2 separate regions of the Homo sapiens genome follow, and region 2 is linked to region 1. The links are contacts of gene promoters, found by promoter capture Hi-C in human tissues and cell types (Jung and others, 2019). All regions are on one chromosome and are shown on one strand. Each heading gives the region's core, a stretch centred on a gene start or on the middle of the fragment in contact. The rest is flanking DNA. Distances are from core to core; before and after follow the strand shown.

The links. Contacts are between HindIII fragments. The study calls those that stand out against the background at their distance.
Region 2: a contact is called between a fragment that was not itself captured here and the fragment with the promoter of CRTAC1 in region 1, in 1 of the 25 tissues and cell types used here (bladder).

Annotation. Positions count from the first base shown.
Region 1 is chr10:98,027,639-98,033,908 of GRCh38, reverse strand. It overlaps CRTAC1 (cartilage acidic protein 1), which reads left to right and starts at 3,288. Exons shown (of 15, transcript NM_018058.7): 1 at 3,288-3,460. The coding sequence starts at 3,437. The HindIII fragment of the contact is 23,473 bases long and covers 1-6,270 here.
Region 2 is chr10:99,367,701-99,373,970 of GRCh38, reverse strand. The region is part of intron 6 of CNNM1 (cyclin and CBS domain divalent metal cation transport mediator 1); the gene reads right to left. Among named protein-coding and RNA genes, the nearest start is that of CNNM1, 41 kb to the right of the region's middle. The HindIII fragment of the contact is 3,893 bases long and covers 1,483-5,375 here.

The sequences.
Region 1 (6,270 bases), core at 2,039-4,538:
AATTTAAGCACGTTCCCCAGGTAAGAATGAAGAAGTCTGTGGGGGAACACTCTGAAGAAAAAACAACTTCACTGGGGTCAAAGGACTGGAGCCTGAACAAGATGCATGGGGTAAGGGTGTGCTGAAAATGTGTGTATTAGTCAGCTCAGACTGCCATAGCCAATACCACAGACGTGGAGCTTAACCACAGAAGTTAATGTTCTCACAGTTCTGGAGCCTGGAAGTCCCAGATCAAGGTGCTGGCAGGTCTGGTTTCTGCAGAGGCCCTGCTCCTGGCTTGCAGATGGCCTCCTCCTGTTACTCAGGCAGGCTTTCTCCTGAGGATGCACAGAGAGAAATGGGAGATCTCTGGTATCTCTCTCTCTTCTTACGAGGACACTAGTCCTATTGAATTAGGGTCCACCCTTATGATCTCATTTTGCCTTAATTGCCCCTTTAAAGGCCTTATCTCCAAATGCAGTCACACTAAGGGTTAGGGCTTCACTATGTGAATTTGGTCCGGAGAGGCACAATTCAGTCTATAACCGTGTGCATGTGCCTCAAGAAAGCTGTGTTTGGGCAATGTGGGAGGACAAGAGGTCTCTCACGGGATTGGGGGTGGGGAAGGGCTGGAGCTCTGAGCAGACACTGACATGAACTGAGCAAATGGACATCGAGGACATCAGAGAAATGAGAAATTTTCCAACCAGGACTGCCTGGCCCACTGGGCTAAACCCTCACAAGTTCAAGTGCTGAAGCCAGATTGTATTCCCTGGAGCACTTCCTGGCTGGAACATCTCCATCATTTCCTGCATTTTTCTGTCCTTCCCTAGCACCTTTGGTCTGTTGTAACCTTACCTGGCTAGCTGCAGGAAAGTGTGAGATTATTACAGAGTTATTTTGCACAGAGCACCTATTCACATCTGGTTGGCTAATGCTGATAATTACCGTGCTGGTTACTAAATCTGTCGGGTCTGGGTGAGGTGAGGCGCTACAGCTGGGGCTGCTGTGCACAGCTTCACCGGAGAAGAGAGAGGTGAGAACAAAAACCAAGAAAGGTGTGCTCAGATGTTTGGGATTGAGTGAAACTGGTTAATTACCAGTCACTTGCTGTCTCCCTGAGTTGGAGTTTCTGGCTAAGGAATGCTCATAGATCAGACATAATATGACAACCTGCAACTTATTTCCACATTAAGAGGGTGGCGGGGACCAAGATGCAGAGAAAGTGTGGAGACAGTCTCTCAGGTGCCAGAGCCTTGGCCAGATGACTCAGATGCCCTCAGAACAAGGTGGTGGCATGTTCCAGCAGGGTGCAGAGCCAACTGGACTCCTTATGCAGAGAGCTGGGGATCAGATATGGCCTTGGGGGCAGAGTCTATTTGCCGATAGATGAAGGTTCTTAATCAGGGCCCTAGATTAAGTTTTAATGATCCACGAACCCTCCTAAAGTTGCATGTCAACATGTGTGTATGTGAGTGAGCATTTTTATAAGCAACAGATCCATAACATTTATGAGATTCTTGAAAGGTTCTAAAGGGTCTGTGATCCCCAAAAGGAGGGTGATTATAAACTACTGTCCTAGACCCCTGAAGAAACAGGTTGACATTGGACCGAGCCCCAAGAGACTCAGGGTTCCTAATGATCCTGAAAGTATACTCAAGGTGTGTGTGTGTGTGTGTGTGTGTGTGTGTGTGTGTGTGTGTGTAAATGTGTGTGTTTGTATATTTTTCTAGAAAAATGATTCAGTAATTTTTGCCAGATTTTCAAAGGGGCCCACAACCTTACAGGCTTGATGGGGGCTCAAAAAGCCAGAAAGTTTGTCTGTGCCTAGCTATTTCTTTTCAGAGGAAGATCACAGAGACCTGAAAACAGAGCCCAGACTAGGTCCTGGTAGTTCTGCTCAAAATCTGTGGATAACAGGGGCCAGAGGCTGGATGTGTGGCCCTCTATAAAAGAACACATTCAAATCATTCTAAGAGTCAAGGGCCCAGAAGCCAGACTAGTGGGTGATGGTCACAAAAGCGTCAACGGATGGGAAAACAGTCCTAGCTCCTTCCCTCTCCGATGGTGGATTCCCAAGTCTTTCTCTTCTGTGGCCCCTTTACCTGGCTTTCAGAAACCCAAAGACCTCACTCATGGAAGCTCAGAATTCATTCAATAAACACTGAGCGCCTACTATGTGCCAGGCTCTATTCTAGGCGTAAAATAAAGGATTTGCCTTCAGAGTGTGACCCACCAAGGCCAGTTTCCTGCCTGAACAGGGGTATTTTGAGCATTGCTGATCAAGTGTGTTTTTCTGGCGCTTAGCACCCCCATTCCCCTGGTCCAGAGAGGCAGAAACCATCCCCCCACCACCACCAAGGCAGCGGGTTGGGGGCGAGGAGAGGCGGGCAGTACCTGTGATCAAAGCGGTGAGGGAGGCTAGTAGGACGCAGGCGGCAGGAGCGGGTGGGCCAGGCCCGACTCGGCCACTGCTGGGGTAGGGACTAGGTGGGATGGGGTGGGGGCACTGCTGGTGGGGACGGGGTGGGGTAGAAGCGGCGCTGCCCGCAGCCGCCTGGGCCTCTGCGCGCCTGATCTCCGAGCTGCGCTCGCCCGCTCCCCGCCTGCGGGGGCCGTCGCGGAGCCCTGCTCTCCATACTGAGCAGTCCCCGGGAGGTGCTCGGACACGTCCCCAGGCTGGATAAAGATCGGCTCGGCTCTAGCTCCGTAGTCGAAATCTCGCCATCAGCGCGGCTCGCTCGGCCGCTTTGGCCCGGCCCGGCGACGCCAGATCGCTATCCTGGGGGGAAATGGGAAGGCAGTGCAGCCGCTCCCGCCTCCACCCTCGGTCCTGCGCGCAGGGGTGGCCGCGGGGTCCTGGGGCTCGCCGCCCTCCCCTCCCCCTTCGCGTTCCTTCCCTGCGCTGCCTCCCGAGGGACCCTCGCTTCCCTCCGGCCTGGGGCCCCCAGCGCCCAGCCAGGCGCCCTCTCCCCTCCTCGCCAGGCCTCGCTGCCGCCTGAAGGTTACGCGACGCAGTGGCGGGGCGCGGGGGGCGCCCGCCCTCGCCGCCGCCTTCGCCGCCGCCCACCCCAGTGGCCGCCGCGCCGCGCCGGGCCAGCCTGGCTGCCGGCTGCTGCCACCGCAATCCCGGCTCCTAAATCAGCGCGGGGAGGCGCTCCCTCCCCACGCCCGGCTCTCCGGGCTCTCGGGGCCGCGATTGGCCGCGCCGGCGCCCCCCACCCCGGGCCCCCGGCTCCAGCTGCCGCGCCATTGGCTGCGGGCCTCCGCCAGCCTTTACATAAGACCGGGCGCGCTCGAGTGGAGTTGTATAAAGCGAGCGCGCGGCGTCGGGGCGGGAGGCTCGAGGCCAGCCCGGGACCGGGGCTGGGAGCAAGCAGGCGGCGGCGCCGGCGGCAGAGGCGGCAGCGAGCGCCCGCTTCCCACGCCCCTAGGCGGCGGGGCCGAGAGCGGGAGGATGGCTCCGAGCGCTGACCCCGGCGTGAGTATCTGCACCGGTGCCCCCCACCCTAAGGCGGAGAAAGTTTCTCCAGCTCTGCGCGCCCCCCCGGATCCGCCCGCAAGGGTGGCGGGGACGCCGCCCGGGAACCCGGGAAGACTGGGATCGCGAAGGCGGCGGCTTCGCTCCTAACTTGCTGGGAGGCGCTGGACTCGATTGGCGCGCGGAGCCTCCCCCGCGGGCTGGGGGTGAGGCGGCGGCCGGGTTGGAGGTGGCGGAGAGGTGGGAGCTGATGTGTGGGGGCGACAGCCAGCAGCTGGCAGAGAAAGTGTTGGGGGCGCACTGGAGGTCAGCTGTCAGGGGAGGGGGCCTCTGGGGCCTGGAGGGGGCGGAGCGGGTGAGGAGGGATGTGCCGGGCTATCGGGAGAGTCTCCCAGTCAGCCAGGCTGAGACCCGGGCCTGGGAAGCCACTGGCCTCGGCCGAGTGCCTACGCTTCCAGGCTGGGGAAGAGCCCCGCGGGCTGGCTCTTCCTCCCCTGGGAAGCCGAGTTCCCGGGCACAGCGCTGGGTGGCAGAGAGCTCCGGGAGCCAGCCCCGCGCGCGGCGTAGCTGCTAGCCGCCTTATGCTGGACGAGGTGTGGTCTTCCCTTCAGGCTGCCTGAGGCAAGCCGGCTTCAGGCATTCCAGGGGAACCCTGAGTCCTCCTCGACCCCGTGGGGGCACTTGGAGGCTTTGATGGGGCAGCCAGGCCGGGCTTGGGGGCATGCCCAGCAATGCAGCGCGCTTCTTTGCAGTACAGTAGTTGGGAGCCCTGGTTAGTCCCGCTTCTGCAGAAAGCAACTCAAGAATCCAAAGTCATCCCAGCCTGGATGGAAGCCTCCCAGAGTGGCGGGGAAATTCTCCTAGGGTTGAGAGCTGGGGGGGCTTCCTCCAGGAATGACTAATGAATATTGCTGCTGCTGCCGCCGCCGCCGCCGCCGCCGCCGCCGCCGCCGCCGCTGCTGCTGCTGGTGGGTGCACCCAGTGTGGCTTCTGCACATCCCAGGAGATGCTTCCGTTCTCCTGACAGGACACATTCTTGAGTTGCACTTGAGGTGTCTTCTGGGATGGGTGCAGGACTTTCCACGTGAAGCCAAGTGGAAAAGAAGGGAAGAGGGTCCCAGGACAGGGGACAGTTCTATAGTGTTTTCTTGAGTCAGGGGAGAACTCATGTGGGAAGAGATAAGCGATTGACGGAGATTTGGAACCCAGACGACTTGGGGCTGGAGATGTCCAAGACTGAATTAGAGCTCATTGAGAGTCACAGAGTACCTCACCCTCAGCCATGGGGGAGAGGTGGAGGCTGGAAAAGTGGGAACATGGTGGCTGTTCCAGCATGGTTCTTGAGAAAATGTTCTCTCTCTCTCTCTGACTTGGTTAAGAACATCCTTCTGGCAGTAGGTCCTAAAGTCAATTTAAGAGGTAATGAAGGGAGTTGAGGGTCTTGATGATGGCACAGAGGACCACAATTAGAACATTTCCATTTCCGGTGGGTACTAATGGACTCTGGAAAAGGTCGAAACGGTGTGTAGGGAGTCTGGGGAACCTGCTCTGTGGCTGCTCATTTGAGCCTGAATCCTCCACCTTATCCCATCCCTGAATGTAGGTGGATGTTCAAACTCCTAGGGTACCTGCTTCAGCCTGGAGATATTTTATGGGTGCTATCAATCTATATCCCAACCCCCAGCTCCATCGTTGTCTGCTGCAGTCAACATTTTTCTGCTGCATTTCCCAAGACCTTCTCTCCACTGGGGATTTGTGCAGCGAAATACCTGCTTGTTGCTCTTTCTTCCCTTCTCCATCTGGGCTGCACCTGGTGTTCTGAACCCTGGTGTTTATTCCTTGGTACCTTGATGTTTGGTTAAGACGTCCTATGGCTGCGCAGGGGTGCCCCTGTAAATCTGTGGACCAATGGCCTGTGTAATTCTAGGGAGTGCAATAGACTTCTATAGAAAGAATACCACCAACCGGGAAGGCAGTCCTACTAAACAGCTTGTGACAGCCTCTCATGCTCAAGCGCTCCCTTGCTTCCGTGCTGAGGCGGTGGAAGCCTAAAGGTGGAGCAGACTCCTTGGTGTCCAGTAGGGGGCGCCAAAGGTACCTGGCTCAGGACCACTGACTTTCTCACTTCTTGCCCTTTACTGGCTGTAGCAACTTAATGCTTTAAGGCAGCTCAGGCTACAGCCTTCAACCACCACCATCGTACTTGGAATCCTTCTACCACATGCTTCCTGGGCTTCAGGTGGTCCTGTGACCTCGGGTGCTATGGGGCAGGTGCAAGCACAACATTCCAAGGAGACAGAGCTGGTACACAGCCCCACCCTCTCTCGGGGATCATTCCTTTGTGCTTGGTGCCGCTGTGTTCTTTGAACTCTTTAAGGGTTCATGGAGTTCCAGAACATTAGAGCCAGAAGCAAGGAGCCTTGGAGAGCATCTCATCCAACCCCATTCCATCCCAACACTCACATGCACATTTAATTTACAGATGAGAAAACTGAAGCTGGATAAAGCCAAGGTCACATGGCTATTTGGTGGAAGACATGGAACTAGGCCCTAGGATTCCCACTGCTCGATTCAGAGCTGTTTCCACTCCAGCGGCCTGCTTCCTCTTCACTATAAAGATGGACATACTTTCTCTATACAGTAGGCACTCATAGTTATTGACTGACCAGGCTTTGGTAAATTAATACATCCCATACAGTTGGGGAGATTCTATTTTGAATCTGTTTTTCAGAGTGAGGAGGTGAGGAGAAAATACAGTTCTTGTCATGGACATACACAGGTCATAGAAATTCCTAATTATTCTTTCCCTG
Region 2 (6,270 bases), core at 2,180-4,679, 1.3 Mb before region 1:
GATGACTGGATAAAGAAAATGTGATTTTGTATATGTGTGTGTGTGTATGTGTGTATACACAATGAAATATTATTCAGCCACAAAAAGAATGAAATCATGTCTTTTGCAGCAACATGGATGGAAATAGAGGCCATTATCTTAAGTGAAATAACACAGAAAGTCAAAGACTGCATTATTTCCCTTGTAAGTGGGAGCTAAATAATATGTACAAGTGGACATAGGGAAATAATACACATTGAAGACCCAGAAGGGCAGGAGAGGGTGAGGGATAGAAATTACTTAATGAGTACAATGTATACTATTTGGGTGATGGCCACACTAAAAGCTCAGACTTCACCACTATGTAATATATCTATGTAACAAAAATGCACTTGTACCCCCTAAATCTATTAAAAAAAGAAGAAAAGAGAAAGCAAATTGATGAGTTCTGGCTTGGCCAGACCCATTTGTAGCTGTTTTAGGGTGGTGGCTGGATAAGTCTGTGTTCTTTCCTCCAGGCTAGTTGTTGCAGAAAAGCGGGGCAGAGAGTCCTGCCCAAAAGTAGCTTCTTTGGCCCCAGTGCAGCATCTGGAAAACCATACCTTGATCTGGTGGGTTTTGACCTCAACTCAGTTTGGACATAACCAAGGGAAGAGAGTGTGAGCAGGGCTTGTGGCTTCAGCTGCCCAGAGAATCACCACCATTCCTCAATAATCCTCCACTTTGCCTGGCCAGACATGGGCTTCACACACCCTACACCAGTTGTTCCACATCCTCATCTCTTATGTCACAATTCAAGATATGTTCAGGGAAGACAACAGGGAAATAGCCCTATTTTATCTACTAAACTCCTTCCATCCGTGGAAGCTTCTCCTGTTGAAAACAGAGGCAACAGCTACATCCCAGTTCCCTCCAAAGCTCTCATCATTTCACTGGCACCCAGTGTAGATGACACCCACAAGGACTCACATGTCAAACACAAGCTACATCACTATTGTGCTGGGAGGAGGAAAAACATGTCTTTTTTTTTAAAGTAAAAACAATGTTATTGAAAGTTTATTTATAAAATCATAAAGGATTCCCAACACCAAACGATACAATTGTCTTACAAAGATCGAGTCTATAAAAGCAATTTTTAAAAGAAAAAAGAACCTTTACTCCGTGAGAAAGTCCCGGCCCCTCTGAGTATTGCGCAAGATCAATGTTTTCGTGTCCTGGAGTCTGACATTCCTTAGTAGGTTGGATGCTGATGACTTGGCATTTTGGTAATTATGCATATACACTCAGAGGTTTCTGAGCAAGGGACATGGAAATGCTTTTAATAAAAAGCAGAAGAAATCAGTAACAGACGAGTGTCTTAGCAGCATGGCAAACTAGTTCAAGTTGTGTAATTCCCCTTGGCATATCCTAAGAGCACAGAGGCACAGCTTGGGGGAGTGAAGCGAGGAGGAAAATCCTAAGTATAATGCAAGGAGGTCTGGAAGGAGACAGATCAAACAGTATGATATGTGACACCAACCCGGGACCTGTCAGCAGGCAGCAGGCCAAGCAACCAACCCATCCCTTGCCCACTCTTGCTCTTGCATCAGACCCTCAGGTTGGCTCAGGTGTAACCGGGTGATGGGGAGCAGGGTTTTCTGCTCTGTGAAATTGTGGCAGACCTCATTCCTGCAGCCTTTGAGTGGTCAGTCTCTAACAGATATCTGTCCTGGGTTGGCTACTTGGATTGCTGAGGTTTGGGTGGGGAAGGCACTAGGGTAAAATTGGGGGCAGGGTGGCAAAGGGTATGGAAGAGGACTTCACACTGTAATCGGGGCTGGATGGAATCTCCTCTCCTTCTGTAGTAATAGTCAGGGGCCCTGAAAATCTATACACAGCAGCTCTGGGACTCTTGCTTCATTTGTGACACCTGTATCCAGGGAGCCTTCACAACCCTATCCTGGAATCAGACCCCAAGATACAGAAGTAGAATGCTAAGCTCCCATTTTCCCTATGAGGATTTGAGGAAAAAGGAGGGTTCAGGGGTTGCCTGCCTACATCTTTTGTACCATCAGTGAGGGATGAGGGGGAATGGCCTACTTTGGTCTGACTGTGATTGTGCCGTGGGCCATCTCTGTTCTCCAAAATGGATGAGGAAGCTTAATTACATAGACCTGTAAGAGTACCAACTAGAATTATTAAAATTCATTATACTGGGGCAATATTTAGCATCAGACAACCGAACACCAAAGCCAGCTGTCTGTCAAAACTACGATGTGAACTCTAAGCCCAAGTTAGGATCCCAGATGAACTCATTCACTTTACACGGAGCTTTAATGGTTCCCAAATGTTCATCACACAAGAGCCAACCCGAAGGAATATTTCCACTTACCACATTTTGCAAAGTAGAAATATTATTTTTAGAGATTCCCTGTATATTCAAGCAGAAAACTGTCATTATTGATCTCAGTGCACATTATGAATAGATAACCGAGCACTGAAAAAGAACCGTTGGTTCCAAAGTCTCTGTCTCTGTGCTTTTGTGGATTTGAAAGGACTGTTATGGGGAATTCAAAATTATCTCCACCACCAGGAGAAGAAAGAAGGAGTGAATATGGGGAAAGGGAATGCTAATTGCAGTGGGGCTGTGTACTTTCAGGGGAAACCCCTGATCAGAAGTTTCATTTTTAAATGAAAGCACCTGCCAAGTTGGTTAACCACACCACAACCTGGAGGTAATCTGTGAACCACTGTGTTCTTATTTCAAACTAAGGCTCAAATAGAAAGAGACTCCCTATGGATAATGATGGCAATATTTGGTGCAGAGACCCCTAGCCTCAATCTAGTGCGAGCACCAGATTCGTAATTAGCACTGCTTTCAAAATGCAAATAAATCACAGCCCTCTAGGGGGCATAAAATGTCTATATTCAGAGGTACAGCAAGGTCCCAGGCAGTAGGTGGAGAGCAGGATCTAAGACTTAGATTCCAGTCCTTGTCCCTCTGCCTACCTAATACACATACAACACTGACTGACTTTCTCAGAACCTGTTTTTTAATCTGTTGTTTTTCAATGACTATTCCTGCCTATCTCCCAAAGTGATTGTGGGGAGTCAAATCAGACAATGACAATTCTTTCTTAGACTTCAAGACCCTACTAATCTCTAGGATTTATTTTCCTCCCATATAAGATACGGTTGAGATTTAGCATATATGTAAATTAATGTATCTGGATCAGAAATCAATATTTCCACTTAGCACATTTTGCAAAGTAAAAAAAATTTTTAGGTACTTTGGTATATTCTAGGAGAAAATGGCATCATTGTTGATCTCAATGCACACTATGAATGGACGATCGAGCACTGAATAAGAGCCCTTGGTTCCAAAGTCTGTGCTTACAGGGCCAGAAGTTACCTGGAACTTCTTTCTACAAAAATCCCAGACCTCTGAGGCTACTTCTTTTAATGATTTGGAACAAAAGCAAGAGTGACAGAGGAAATACCACAGAATAGGTCCTGTGGATGTCAGCTGATCACTGGGAAGGCACAGTGATTAGCTCTAGATAGAGACCAGACACAAGGTGGAGAGGAATAAGCCAAAGGAGAAACTAGGCATTCCCTACCTCTGGTTTTCTCCCACTGTACCCACCATTGCTCCACCCTGCAGAGTTAAACCAAGGGTGGGAATAAGCTTACCTCTTTATGGGTAGGGTTTCCATTGTGTTGACACTAATCTCCTGTTGTGTTGAATATCCACAGTCATGGAAAAGGGGGGAAAGTTGAAAATACTCTCAGGGGCACATGACACCACCCAGAGTTGGATCAGAAGTCTCAGCACTTCCTGGGGGTTCTGCACAGCAGGAGGGAATCACTTTCATCTCTGTCTGACATTGGGTTATCATGGACTTTATAATAATCAATACAGATGAACTAGAATTAACCTTCCTTTAACTGGGAAGTTACAATTAACTAGGTCATCTGGTTAACTGAAGGTTAATTAAAAAGGAAAACACATCCTCGCTTTGATCTTTTGGGCTGAAAGTCTTTTAAAATGTGCATCTCCCCTTTCCTCTGAACCTTCACAGCACACTCTTGGCATTCACCAAGATTCACTGCATGTGAAGGAACTTGAAGGTCCATCAAGTGGTCATTTCTAATTTTGCGGGCATGTAGGAGTAGACCATTTAGCTGGTGAGGGCACCAGATTGGCATTTCACATTGACTGTCCGATCCTGTAGTCATTATGAAGGCATGAGCTCTCACAAAGCAAGAAAAACTATTTCTTAGTGGAAAATCACCATCGAGAGAGAGAGAGAAAACTTTGGTGAAATTTGAGAAGGTGGTTAACTTATCTTGTATAGATCAACATGAGGACCAGATGGTTTTTGATGAAAAAAAGTGATTTTGGGAAAAAACAGAAGTCAACATAAATACTTCTGAGGTTGCAAATTGGAGGGTTTGAAGTCTCAAAACATGACCTTTTTTAAATGTTGAGGGTCTACTATATAGACAGAGAAACATAAGCGATTTCTCGATGACTGAGGATATGGTGGGGTCTTAGTATCATTACCCCAGCAACGTGATAAGGGATACAGATTTAGAGGGTAGAGGAAATTGGACTGTGTTCTAACTGCAGGGCAATTTAACAAATACATTCCTGGTTTAGTCATTACTTGCTCTATGAGCCCAAGAGAACAACCACTGGAGATGAAAACAAACGGTTGATCATTCAGATTTGTGGCATTCTACTCAGTCATTGAATCATTGTCTAGCTCTATGAGGAATTGTTACCCGATTAAAAAGAAACCCAGTGACTATTTCATTTATCAACAAAAGAGGTTAAACCTAATGAAAAGTTGTTTTGAAAGTTTTACATATAGCATCCTTTGTACGAGCAGAGCTAGTGAGCATATGATCATCACATAGTAACATTATTAGGAAGATGAGGACATGGAAGGAAAGAAAGGTAGAAAGAAAATAGGTAGAAATAAAGCACAGTATTCCACTATTCCTACTTCATTCATGCTGTACTCCTCATCCCTCCATTCTGTAGTCAGACAAATGAGGAAAAACTCACACTATCCCTCACCCCCACCATTTTTCCATGTGCATACACAGATACATTCCTGGGAGGTAAACTCACAAATGACACCACTGAACCAGCAATGCCTGGGTGGTATGTGCAAATGAGTGCTATTTGTGCAAAGTGCTATGCCTTAGTCACAGGAGTGCCTGTTGGAGTGATTAGTTCTCATGCAGGAAAGTGACAGAGGCCAAAGGCTTCTTGCAAACCCCTCTGGATCTACAGAGACCCGAGACACCCATGCATGTTTACCTGGGGAGCCTGCCAGAGAGTCCCCTCTGCTGACAGCGAAGGTACGAGACACAGAGACAGGCACTAAAGAGTCAGGGGCCAAGGATTTGTGAGTTGCGAAAGGGAAGATATAAACACAAAAGGAAAGAGACAAAGAACAAAGTGGGTGAGACAGTCTGTTCCTGGATCTTCACAACATCACATTTCTCTGCAAAAAGGAATCTTGACTCTGAAAACACAGGAATCACATCCTCTTACAAAGTCACACTCCAGAAAGACAAGAAAATAAAATGGATTTTGCTGAAGGTCATCTGAAAAGATGTGCAACACATCTTGGAATCAGATGTACAAGCACAAGCCGAGCCCTGTGGGAAGCATGTAGGCAGCATTCTCTGAGGCTCCCATTTTGAGCCAGCAAACATGCTGGGAGCCCAGCGCTGCATTCCCACCAAGCTCTCCCAGCTCCCATGGAGCTCAACTGCCAAGGGCACCTGCACAGGTACTCAGAGGCCTGAATGGAAAGCGTGTGCTCCTGCTAGGGGCATCCTTGAGGAAGCTAGATCCTGCCTCAGACTCCTAGGAGATCCCTCTGCTCACAGTGTTGGTGAAGAACTGTGCATTGCTAGAGGATAGGGATAAAGGAAGAACAATATCTCTAGCAGTGTTAATGTGAATCAACTTGATGAATTAAATCAAAGCCACTTTGTGGTAAGTACCAGTGGTCCAAAGTATCTCTCCGTTCCATTGTCCTTCTCTTTCCCCACAGAGTTTGAAATGGTGCTGGCTATCACTGGGGGGCCCGGGTAGAGTTCAGTGTGTATAACAGTCCAGCCCCTCCCCCTTCAAGTGGTGTCTGGGCAGGGGAACTATGGGAACCTGTCTTCATCTCTCTTATCTGATCATTCCCAGAGTCCTTTTTAAGGAGCTAAATGAAACCAGTCTGCAGATGATAGCATATGGAAATAGACTGCTTCTGCAGTTTTATTTGCTACATCAAATGA